Linked DNA regions of Homo sapiens: region 1 is linked to region 2. The links are contacts of gene promoters, found by promoter capture Hi-C in blood cells and fetal thymus (Javierre and others, 2016). All regions are on one chromosome and are shown on one strand. Each heading gives the region's core, a stretch centred on a gene start or on the middle of the fragment in contact. The rest is flanking DNA. Distances are from core to core; before and after follow the strand shown.

Region 1 (5,531 bases), core at 2,466-4,965, 2.1 Mb after region 2:
AAAATTTAAAAAAATACACTTTGGGAGGCCGAGGCAGGCAAATTACCTGAGTTGCAGGAGTTCGAGACCAGCCTGGTCAACATGACGAAACCCCGTCTTTACTAAAAATACAAAAATTAGCTGGGCATGGTGGTGTGCCCCTGTAGTCCCAGTTACTCAGGAGGCTGAGGCAGGAGAATCACTTGAACCCGGGAGACGGAGTTTGCAGTGAACCGAGATCACGCCATTGCACTCCAGCCTGGGTGACAGAGGGAGACTCCATCTTAAAAAATAAAAATAAAGAAAAAAGAAAGAAAAAGAAAAGAAAAGAAAGAAAAGAAAAAAAATTTTTAAGCCAACTCCAGACCAAATGCTACCTTATTCAAAAAAATCTGTCTTGATTTTTCCAACTCGCTAATCTTCCCTCATCCTTGAACTCCCCATTTCTAGACTATAAGTTCCTTGCATGCAGGAACTGTTTTTATTGATCTTTGTAACCATGGAAGAGGCTACCATAGAGACTATCTTAACACACGAATGGTCCCCAACTTATGATAGCTCGACTTTAGATTTTATAACTTTACAGTGGTGTCAAAGCAATACACATTCAGTGGAAACCTTACTTCAAGTGCCCATACAATCATTCTGTTTTTCATTTTCAGTACAGTATTCAAAAATTACATGATATATTCAACACTTAATTATAAAATAGGCTTTGTATTAGATGATTTTGCCCAACTATAGGCAAATGGAAGTATTCTGAGCACATTTAAGGTAGGCTAGGCTAAACAATGATGCTCAGTACGTTTGTATTTTAAATGCATTTTCTCCTTTTGATATTTTCAACTTATGATGAGTTTACTGGGACATGACCCTATCATAAGTTGAGGAGCATCTGTAATGCACAAGAGGGGGTCTTAATTATTGTCTTTTATTGCTGTAGTTTTTAAATTACTTGAGACTTGAATTCTGCCTGCTACTTCGTTTTCACTGCCCCTAAATAGCCCATAGAACAACGCTTAGTAGGTTGGAGGCACACAGTATACATGCATTGATTGATTTTAATTTGCACTCACTTTCAAAGTTTCATGCTTTCTTTACAAAAGAGAAGCATTTCCCCAAGAGTGTTTTATAGTATATTAATTTCATATTATGTAATGAGGTTTTCTCCCAAAACAGATCTAGGTCCAAGTAAGTTTGGAGGAAAATAGATTAAATAAAGTTAAATAAATTTCTCTCTTAATAATTTTAAGCCTGTAATATGCCTACTATGACATTTCAAAATGTTGTTTTTGTTTTTGCTTTTTGAGACAGGGTCTCATACTGTCACCCAGGCTGGAGTGCAGTGGCACAATCATGGCTCACTGCAGCCTCTATCTCCTGGGTTCAAGTCATCTTCCCACCTCAGCCTCCCAAACAGCTACAGGCACAGGCCACCACGCCCAGTTTAAAAAAAAAATTTTTGTAGAGACAGGGTGCAACTATGTTGCCCAGGCTGTTCTCAAACTCCTGGGCTCAAGTGATCCTCCTGCCTTTGCTTCCCAAAGGGCTGGAATTATAGGTGTGAGCCTCTGTGCCTGGCCCCACAAAGTTTTAATTGACTAAACATTTGAGTTTGTTTAGTTGGTTGGTTGATTTTTGCAGTGCTTACTTAGGAACAGGATTCCATGTAATTTCAAAAATATATTTTTAAAATTCAGGTAGAAACTTCTGTATTATTTTTCTTTGTGATATTAAGTGTCAAACAATTTTAACACTTATCTCAAGAAGGCTTGTGGAGACTGGGATTTGGAGTAAAACAGACTCAACTTCTGACTTTTACTGGAGTAAAATGGACTGCAACTCCTAGATATGTGAACTTGGGCAAGCTACACAATTTCTTAATACATAAAATCTCAGTTTTCTCATCTGAAGAATGAGGAGAACAAAGGCTTCTATCTCTTTATAGTTGTAGAAGAGAATTAAATGAGATAAACACAGGCAAAAAGAAATATCTAAGTTGCTTAATAAGAATTAATTATTATTGACCAGGCACGGTGGCTCACGCCTGTAAGCCCAGCACTTTGGGAGGCCGAGGCAGGCGGATCACAAGGTCAGGAGATCGAGACCATCCTGGCTAACACGGTGAAACCCCGTCTCTACTAAAAATACAAAAAATTAGCCGGTCATGGTGGCAGGTGCCTGTAGTCCCAGCTACCCGGGAGGCTGAGGCAAGAGAATGGAGTGAACCCGGGAAGTGGAGCTTGCAGTGAGCCAAGACTGTGCCACTGCACTCCAGCCTGGGTGACAGAGCGAGACTCTGTCTCAAAAAATAAATAAATAAATAAATAAAAAGAATTAATTATTATTAAGGAGCCACTTTTATTCTCTCCTGACCCTTCTATACAATTGACTAATTCCTCCTTTGTTTCCCCAGTTTAGCTGGTAGTTTTCTATCACGTTTTTTGGATTCATTTGTTTCAAGTAAATGGTAAGTCCCTGCATAGGGACTTCCTCTTATTTCTATTTGTAAGCCCCATGGGCTTGGTGACATCTGGGAATGCAGACAGATTTAAGGCAGAGAGAGAAGCTTGAAGGAATAGCAGAACAAGTGCCTCCCAGGGGTACATTTTCTTATTGGCAGTCACAATCCAGTCTTGCCTCCTTGAGGCCTCATCCAGGGTCACTGCATTTGTCAGAAAACATTTGGTTGCATGACATAACTGTAACTCAAACCAACAAAGACAAGATACAGTTTCTTGACTGATACAATGTACAATGGTAAAGCATGCTTGGATGGCCTAGCAGACAAAGCAAGAGCTGGAGGACCCAGGGACTCAGGCAATTGAACGGGGAACTCAACCAGAACTTTTCTCTTTTCCATTTCTGTTTGGCAGTTTGTTTTCTTTTTTCTTTTTTTTCTTTCTTTTTTTTTTTTTTTTTTTTTTTTTTGAGATGGAGCCTTGCTCTGTCACCAGGTTGGAGTGCAATGGCACAATCTCGGCTGACTGCTACCTCTACCTCCTGGGTTCAAGCGATTCTCCTGCCTCAGCCTCCCGAGTAGCTGGGAGTACAGGCACGTGCCACCATGCCCAGCTAATTTTTGTATTGTTAGTAGAGACGGGGTTTCACCGTGTTGGGCAGGATGATCTCAATCTCTTGATCTTGTGATCCACCCGCCTCGGCCTCCCAAAGTGCTGGGATTACAGGCGTGAGCCACCCTGCCTGGCCAGCAGTTTCTTTTAAGTAACAGAGAAAATTGTCATTTGGTAATCCCAAATCTGTGACATTCCAGTTTAGTAAACTCAGCGGGGGAAGGATAACTTTTTTTTCTCCATACTCTAAATATTAATCTCAGGATAAAAATGATACCATTCGCTACCCACTTTGGATCAAGGGCCTATCTTTGGGACAAGCACTGTTGCCAAGTGGATGAGGTAGTAAGATTTGCTGAGCCCAAGTCAAGTACCTATTTCTGTGTTGAGAAGCACGTGGGAAAGGTGAAGGCAATATCTCTCATTGGTCTACTGCTAGTCTGATTAAAAGTCCTTTGCTACACCAATTCACTGCATTTCCCTAGGCTGGATCTGGCATAGCCACTCATCTTTTTGAGGGTGAATCATATTTAAAAAAAAGGATGATTTTGTTCCTCACAGTTTGGATTTCTTCTAATTTTACTCTCTCAGTGCAATAATTATAGTTGCAGGCTATGCTCCATGTCGGTGCCCGTCCTCTGTTCTTAGCCCAGTTATAGCACTTACCACATTTACTGCTTGTCTGCCTTTGTAAGAGGCTAAGCAAATGTGCCTGAAGCCTGAGTAATTTGCTCTCTTCAACAGTGTTTCTCCCAGACGTAAGCTAATGTGTGAAACACAGAGAGCACCCAATACGTACTTGTTAAAAGAAAGAAAGATCAAAACCTTCCAAGGTGCAAAATAGAACACAGACAAGAGGCGTAGAACTCAGATTGAATTGGGGATGGAGGTTTGAGGGTGTCAGAGTTGCTGAGTATGGAAGGAAGAGTAGGTGTGGAGAAAGTAAAGAACATTTAGGTGTGGAGAAAGTAAAGAACATTCTAGGTAGTGGGGAGGCATAGAGACAGTGGTGCGCTGGAGCTGGCTCACATAAACTTGCAAGAACACTTGTGCACTTCTCTTCCCAACTTCACACTCAGGGATTTCACATTGGTAGGCGGATGTCAGCCATGGTGGGAGTATTTACACCACAGAAATTGGAGCCGGTACAAAGCAAGGCTTCTGTTCTGTTGCCAGAGAGCTGACCATTAAATATTTGCCATGCCACCATATAAAAGCATGAAGGCGACAGGAATATTGCTGTAAGGGTACCTGGAAATCAAATCATGAAGGGACAGTGTTAAGCACAGGCTGGGCACAGTGGCTCACCCCTGTAATCCTAGCACTTTGGGAGGCCGAGGCAAGTGGATCACCTGAGGTCAGGAGTTCGAGACAAGCCTGGCTAACATGGCGAAAACCCGTCTCTACTTAAAATACAAAAAGTAGCTGGATATGGTGGTGCGCCTGTAGTCCCAGCTACTTGGGAGGCTGAGGCAGGAGAATCACTTGAACCTAGGAGGCAGAGGTTCCAGTAAACTGAGATCGCGCCTCTGCACTCCAGCCTGAGAGACAGAGCGAGACTCTGTCTCAAAAGAAAAAAAAAATTAAGCACAGTAATCCAAATTTCTCAGCCACTGAAAGATTTTGAAAGGGAAGGCATGACATGACTTGATGAATATCTGCTGGCTAGCATTCTTCAACAATAGTTTTGCATGGCAAACTTGGCAGAAGGTGGCATAGTCACTTTATATTAAATGCTTGCAGTTCTAGGGAAGTTATTACCTGTCCTAGCAAATCAATCTTATCCTATAGTTTACCCTAGAACTACGCCAGGCCCAATCTAAGCTTGATTCCATCAGGGCCAGGTGTGGCCACAACAGCAGCACCACTTTAAATCTGTGCCAGTAGCTCATATATTTTATATAGTACAAGTCTATTTCCTCATACCACCTGGCACACCAGCCTCCGTAATGTTGACATTAGCAAGCTTCCAACAAAAAGGTTGGCAGCCCTAGCCATATTTTTTCTTTTCTGTCTAGGTTATTTTAGCTGTGGTCCTGCTTAATACCAGAGGCATGAACCAAATAGATTTTCACATTGCTTCCAAATCTATGAATATATATAGAGAAAAGTTTATTCATGAAAGAGAGAAGGGAGGAAGGAAAGAAGGAAAAAAGGAAGGAAGGAAGGGAGGGGAGGAGGGAGAGAGGGAGGGAAAGAAAAGAGAGAAAAAGAAGAAGGAAGGAGAAAGAAAGTAAAGTAAGTCCAGGGAGCGAGAGAGGGGAGGAAGGAAGGAAGGAAAAGAAAGAGAAAGACGGAAAGAAAATGAGAAAGAAAGAAAGAGAGAGAAAGGAAGGAAAGAGAAAGAAAGAAAAAAAAGAAAAAGAAAAAGGGAGAAAGAAAGAAAGTCAAGTCAGTCCAGGGAGGGAGGGAGGGAAGAAGGAAGGAGGGAGGGAAGGAGAAAGAAGAGAGAGAGAAGGCAAGAAAGAAAGAGAGAGA
Region 2 (5,345 bases), core at 212-2,711:
CAGCAGTAAAAACACTGAACAATTGAATATCAATGATATGTTAAAGCCAGCTGTTAATTAACCCATTAATAAGGTGATTTTCTTTCACACAGAGATTCTATCGATACACTTTCCCCCCACCTTCTTCCATTTTTCACCATTTCAACTTTCCCCCACCCCAATCAGTAACTGGTAAAAAAGATCTGACCATGAGTTCATTATTGGGAAAATCTTACAAAATGCTATATTTCAAGCTTTTTCTAAATTGGATACAACTTTGCATTTCCACTATGTTTTTAAGTCCCCTCCTTAAAAATACACATTTATGTACAAATAACAATACTATATTTTGCATCTTAAAAGTAGACTGCCCTGTGATATTTACAGAGAAAATGTTCACCATTCCTTTCTACGTTTCAAAATATCCCTCCTCTTGGGTGCTGACATAGAAACATCATTTTGGAACAAGTGGCAGTTTCGTCTTGCATCCCTGCCTTTTCTTGTTCTGCATGGGAAAAAAGCCTAAATAGTAGACAGCAAGAAAATTCAATAATGTCCACTCTGGAACAACCCGAGGGTAGGAATTTTGCATATGTATCAGGCGCCCTATAAGCATCACCCTCCCATCCCATGCCATAAAAAAGGGTGGAGGGGAGGAAATATTCAGCAAAGTCCTAATATACAATGTGTATTGTAAAAACAACTTTAATTTTAAAAGTGAATTCTACCTTCTAAGGTTTTCAGTGCTGCCTCACTCCTACTCCTAGGGTGAAGGACTTTGGAGAGACACGAAAACTAATTCATATCAAAACCAGAACGCGAAACTCCTGCCTGCCCCGTAGCCTGGCCTGAGTACCTGGAATGCCCGAAAGTGGATGGGCGCTCTCTCTTCCTATCTGGCCCATGGCTCTGAGGACCTCCCTCCCCGCTCCAAGCCCCAAGCCCGCGAGCAGGAGATGCTCAGAGAAAAGCGAGTCGCTCACCAGTGAGGAGCCAGCAGCAGGCGACAGCGACCCCTGGGCGGGCGCGGGGCCGAGGGGCCATGGCCGGAGCAGCCTCAGCGCCAGGGGGCCGCGCTGGTTCGCAGGGCAGGACCGGGCGCGGGAGCTGCGCTCTCTGGCTGGGCCACTTATCCCGCTGCCGCGGTTCCCAGTCCTCTGCCCCAGTGGCAGCGGCGCCCAGGAGCGGGAGAGGAGTGATTTCCTGTGTTTTCGTCGAATTCCTCTAAATGCGCTCCACGCTTTTCACATCCCAGACGGATTGCCACATCGCCCGCCCCTTCGCGCTCTTGGTCTCTGAAATCTCACTGGCAGCTTCCCAGGCTCTGTCCGAGACATGGACAAATAAAGCCAGCTTCGCGGGTCCGTGTTTAGGCTAAAGTCCACGGGCTGTAGAAGCAAACCTTAAAGGGACATCTGCCTTTCATTGAGAGGGTGATCTCGTTCTCCGGGCCAAATCCCCTAAGGTGGTAGGAAGGCGGGTAAGGGCTGGACCTTCGGGAGGGTGTTGCCAGCCCAGTGGCTCCGCCTTCACACCCCTTACTTCTCCCGGCCCGGGCAGGGAGGGCGCTTTGACAGTGCCTGGGCGCCCTTAACGGGAGGCAGCTTTCCCGGGTCCATTGCGCAGAGGGATTAGGCCGTCTGTGAAAATGCGAGGATCTGGAATCCCCCCTTCCATCCCCTGCGGACACTTGAAATTCACCGTGAAGTCGTTTTGCACGAAAGGGGGCGTCCCCACCACCCCGACAGGCTCCACTGAGGGCTTTGCTTTCGCTTATGGGGGGGTGGGGGGGTTGCTTCGTTTATGGTAATTCGTGGTTAAAGGGTGGTTGCAGATAAGCTTTTCTTTGAGATAACTAGGATAAGGGGAGAAAAGGAGAAGCAAGACGGAGGAAAAACAGTAAGAGGGAGAGCGAGAAGGGAAGAGAGGAAGAAAAGCAGCCTCCTTGGAAATGGAATGTGTGTGGGCTATTTTGTTTAAGTGAATTAGGATGTTTGTACGCTGGTAATTGAATCTAATAAAGAACTCGGGGCACTACTTTATTTTTTTCTTGCTTGAAACTTTCACGAGTGAAAATGCATTAAGAGTCCAGAAGTGCTTAGGAACTTGCAATGCTTCCCTTTCCTGGTGAGTTGAACAACCTCTCTGAGTCAAAAGCCATATTCACCCTAGCTTCAACCAATGCTGGCTATTTTCAAAATAGCTGTGTCTTAGCGGTTTTGAGAATTTCAAAGACAGAAAGAATAAGTGGATTTGTGTTTAGAGGAATCTGAGGGAAACAGTTCAATTCAATTCTTCAACTCAACAACTAATTGAGCATCTCTAGCAGAACTAGGGCTAGGCAGGACAAGAGTGCCACCCAAAGGAGGGTTCGTTGAGCAGAACGCAACACAGGTAGCACAGAACAGGTAACACGAGGGACAGGAAGGAAGAAGCCCACAGGGTTCACTGGATACATTGCCAGATAGAGGATCACAGCAACTAAAAGCTGGAGAAGACAAAAGTTGAAGAAGTTTAAGGAGCGTCAAAAATGGGGTGGGCAGACCCAAGGAGGTTGAAGGCCATCAGATCTCAGTATGTTGACCCATTAATCAAGAAATTCCTTTTCTATTATGTATCTGAACTGATTCACTATTTAGTAAATACATTAAAAATCTCGTTCTCCCGTTTTTAGTTTTTATAATGTCATTTCTCAGTTCTGTCTTCAAATTTACACAAATGAGTCTCTAGAAAAATTGTATTATGTTGGGTCACAGTTCAATCCCATTGGACTTTACTTAAGTTCCTTTGTTTGTGTTCAATGCTCTCATACCCTGCCAAGGAATTCATTTCCTGTGTATATCTCGTTTCCCTGTTGGTAGTATCAGTTATGTCTTATGCCTCTCAGTATGACTCTCTGTGCTTTGAACAGTAACCAATAGATATTGATTAATTCGTAGACATTTAAAAATCATAGTAAGTACTTTCCCAATGATATTTCTCCAAATTGCTTAGTTTTCAAAAACATATAATAGTGTGTCTATATATACACAATCATGTGTATGTATGTATGTGTACATATATATGTACAGCATATACATACATATGCAAATACATATATGGCATTTTAGCAAATTGCAATATATTTCATTAGAAAAAACAAAAAGAAATTGTAAAATATTGAAATAAAGTAGGGTTAACATATAATATGTTCAAGTTTACAATTACTGGGAAATTTACCTTTCTTCTGGGGGCTAATATATAATTTCAATTTTAATATTTTTATTTCCTCTAGGACTTACAAATTATTGGTGATAACCATCACTAACAGTGATATTGTTACAATTAATTTTCACAAGTTACAAATTTTATGTTTACATGTTTACATATTTATGAATCTTTTATATGTCTAGTCAATACAAATGTAGAGACTGAGAGATAACTATGGTTAGAGAATTAATTTTAGAATCAGTGCTTATTTTCTGAACTTCAATAAACCCAAATACAAATAAATGTCAAGCCGGTTATTTTCTTAACCAATTTTATTCTGACTGACAGAAAGACATGTCATTGAGTAAAGATTTAGAGAAGACAGAAACTTGCCCAGAGTCACAAACTAGTTATTGATATGAGACACTTGATGACAAATGTTTCAGCTCTAGACTTTATACTACATACTTTTCTATTTTAAATGAGACTTGATTTGATCAGATCTCTTTAAGGGTTTGGAAGCATGAGTAGGAGCATGAACCTTATTGTGAACTGCACACGCTTCTTATGAGAATCTAATGCCTGATGATCTGTCACTGTCTCCCATCATCCCCAGATGAAAACGTCTAGTTGCAGGAAAACAGGCTGAGGGCTCCCACTGATTCTACATTATGGTGAGTTTTATAATTACTTCATTATATATTATAACATAATTATAATGGGAATAAAGTGCACAATGAATGTAATGTGTTTGAATCATCTTGAAACCGTTTCCCCTACCCCTGGTCTGTGGAAAAAATGCCTTCTATGAAACCGGTCTCTCTGCCAAAACGGTTGGGGATGGCTGCACTGAAAGATTAGAGACTGAACTGATTAAGAATTTGGAAAGTGGATGTCTATGAAATGAGGCAAGAGTAATTGAGATTATTAACCAATAATCTCAAAAAGAAAAACATATACTTAAAACCAAAGTATTCTTCTTGGAGTTAATCTAATATACTGAGTAAAGTAACTAGAGTAAGTAAGGTTCTGGAGTTACGCTGCTTGGACTCAAGTCCTGGAACCACAATATAGTAGCTGTGTGATTTGGGAAACGTCATCAAGTTTATCTAAGCCTCAGTTTTCTCAAATGTAAAGTGGGAATGAAAATACTGTACTACTTCTGGTCTGAGAATTGCTGTGGGGATTAAATGAACCGAGCCTCTGAGCATTTAGCACAATGCCTGGATTAAAGTAAGTGCTCGGTTAGTATGAATCATTCTTCTCTGTAAATAGAAGAATTGGTATTAAACAGACCATGTAAACAGGGCAGGCTCTGCGTGTGGTAGACCCTGTAGGAAGTGGTGAAATTTGATGGCCATCAGAAGAGGAACTTTAATGTCCGCCTAAAAATATCTCCATCAACTCCTATTATTATTTCTGGAATCCTCGCTTTAAAAATATTTACCTTGGATTAGGGAATTATCTTGAAGATAGTTCTATAAAATGGGTATGCATGAAGACATCAGAACCCATTATAACGTTCACATGAATTTGCTTTTCAAATTGGCTGGCCGTCAGAGGTTTTTTTTTTTTTTTTTTTTTTTTAATTTTTTTACAAGAGAAGAACATTCCGCTAAGAGGTTGGGGGAATAGAAGAGGTTCTAGAACTCCGTGTCTAATGTATGCCAGGGTTCTTTAGCAGTAAGATTATAGGTTCTCAAAGCTACAGGATAAATAAGGTACTCCCACCTGGGTAGTGGGGGTGGTGCTGATTTTACTCAAAAATAAATAATTTAAAAATTGTTGTTTGCTAAAATAACAGATTTTTATAAGAAATATTTTTAAATCATGTTTTCTTTTTAAAAGTCAAATATGAGATTTTAAATACATTTTAAGGTAGCATCAAAGTGTGGTTTTACCCCAACCCCATCCCCTCCACTCTCAGGTGTTAGGGGTAGGTGGAAGTGTACAGAACTGCTTCCGTTTTTACAAAGATTTTATGAAGATTTGGATTTTTAAGTTTTAGTATGTAAGCACTTAGGGGAATATACCCCAAAACAGTGGGGCTAACTCACAAAGCTAACTCATATGGAAAACTTAGTCTAGTTCAATAATTTTTAATTTTCTGGCATATATTGGGCTCCAGGGCTATGTTCTGCAGAGGCAAAAATGGATACAACAGTTGTTATTCCACT

The links. The method cuts DNA at HindIII sites, captures the fragments that hold promoters and counts their contacts. A CHiCAGO score of 5 or more calls a contact.
Region 1: a contact is called between a fragment that was not itself captured here and the fragment with the promoter of ITGA1 in region 2, in 1 of 17 cell types (M1 macrophages). The highest score is 7.3, in M1 macrophages.

The regions. Positions count from the first base shown.
Region 1 is chr5:50,655,430-50,660,960 of GRCh38, reverse strand. No RefSeq gene overlaps it. Among named protein-coding and RNA genes, the nearest start is that of PARP8, 8.4 kb to the left of the region's middle. The HindIII fragment of the contact is 2,329 bases long and covers 2,551-4,879 here.
Region 2 is chr5:52,784,032-52,789,376 of GRCh38, reverse strand. ITGA1 (integrin subunit alpha 1) reads right to left here and starts at 1,461. Exons shown (of 29, transcript NM_181501.2): 1 at 963-1,461. The coding sequence starts at 1,023. PELO (pelota mRNA surveillance and ribosome rescue factor) reads right to left here and starts at 1,461. Exons shown (of 3, transcript NM_015946.5): 1 at 963-1,461. It overlaps PELO-AS1 (PELO antisense RNA 1), which reads left to right. Exons shown (of 5, transcript NR_186455.1): 2 at 3,785-3,842. RefSeq lists an enhancer at 1,494-1,773. The HindIII fragment of the contact is 1,585 bases long and covers 236-1,820 here.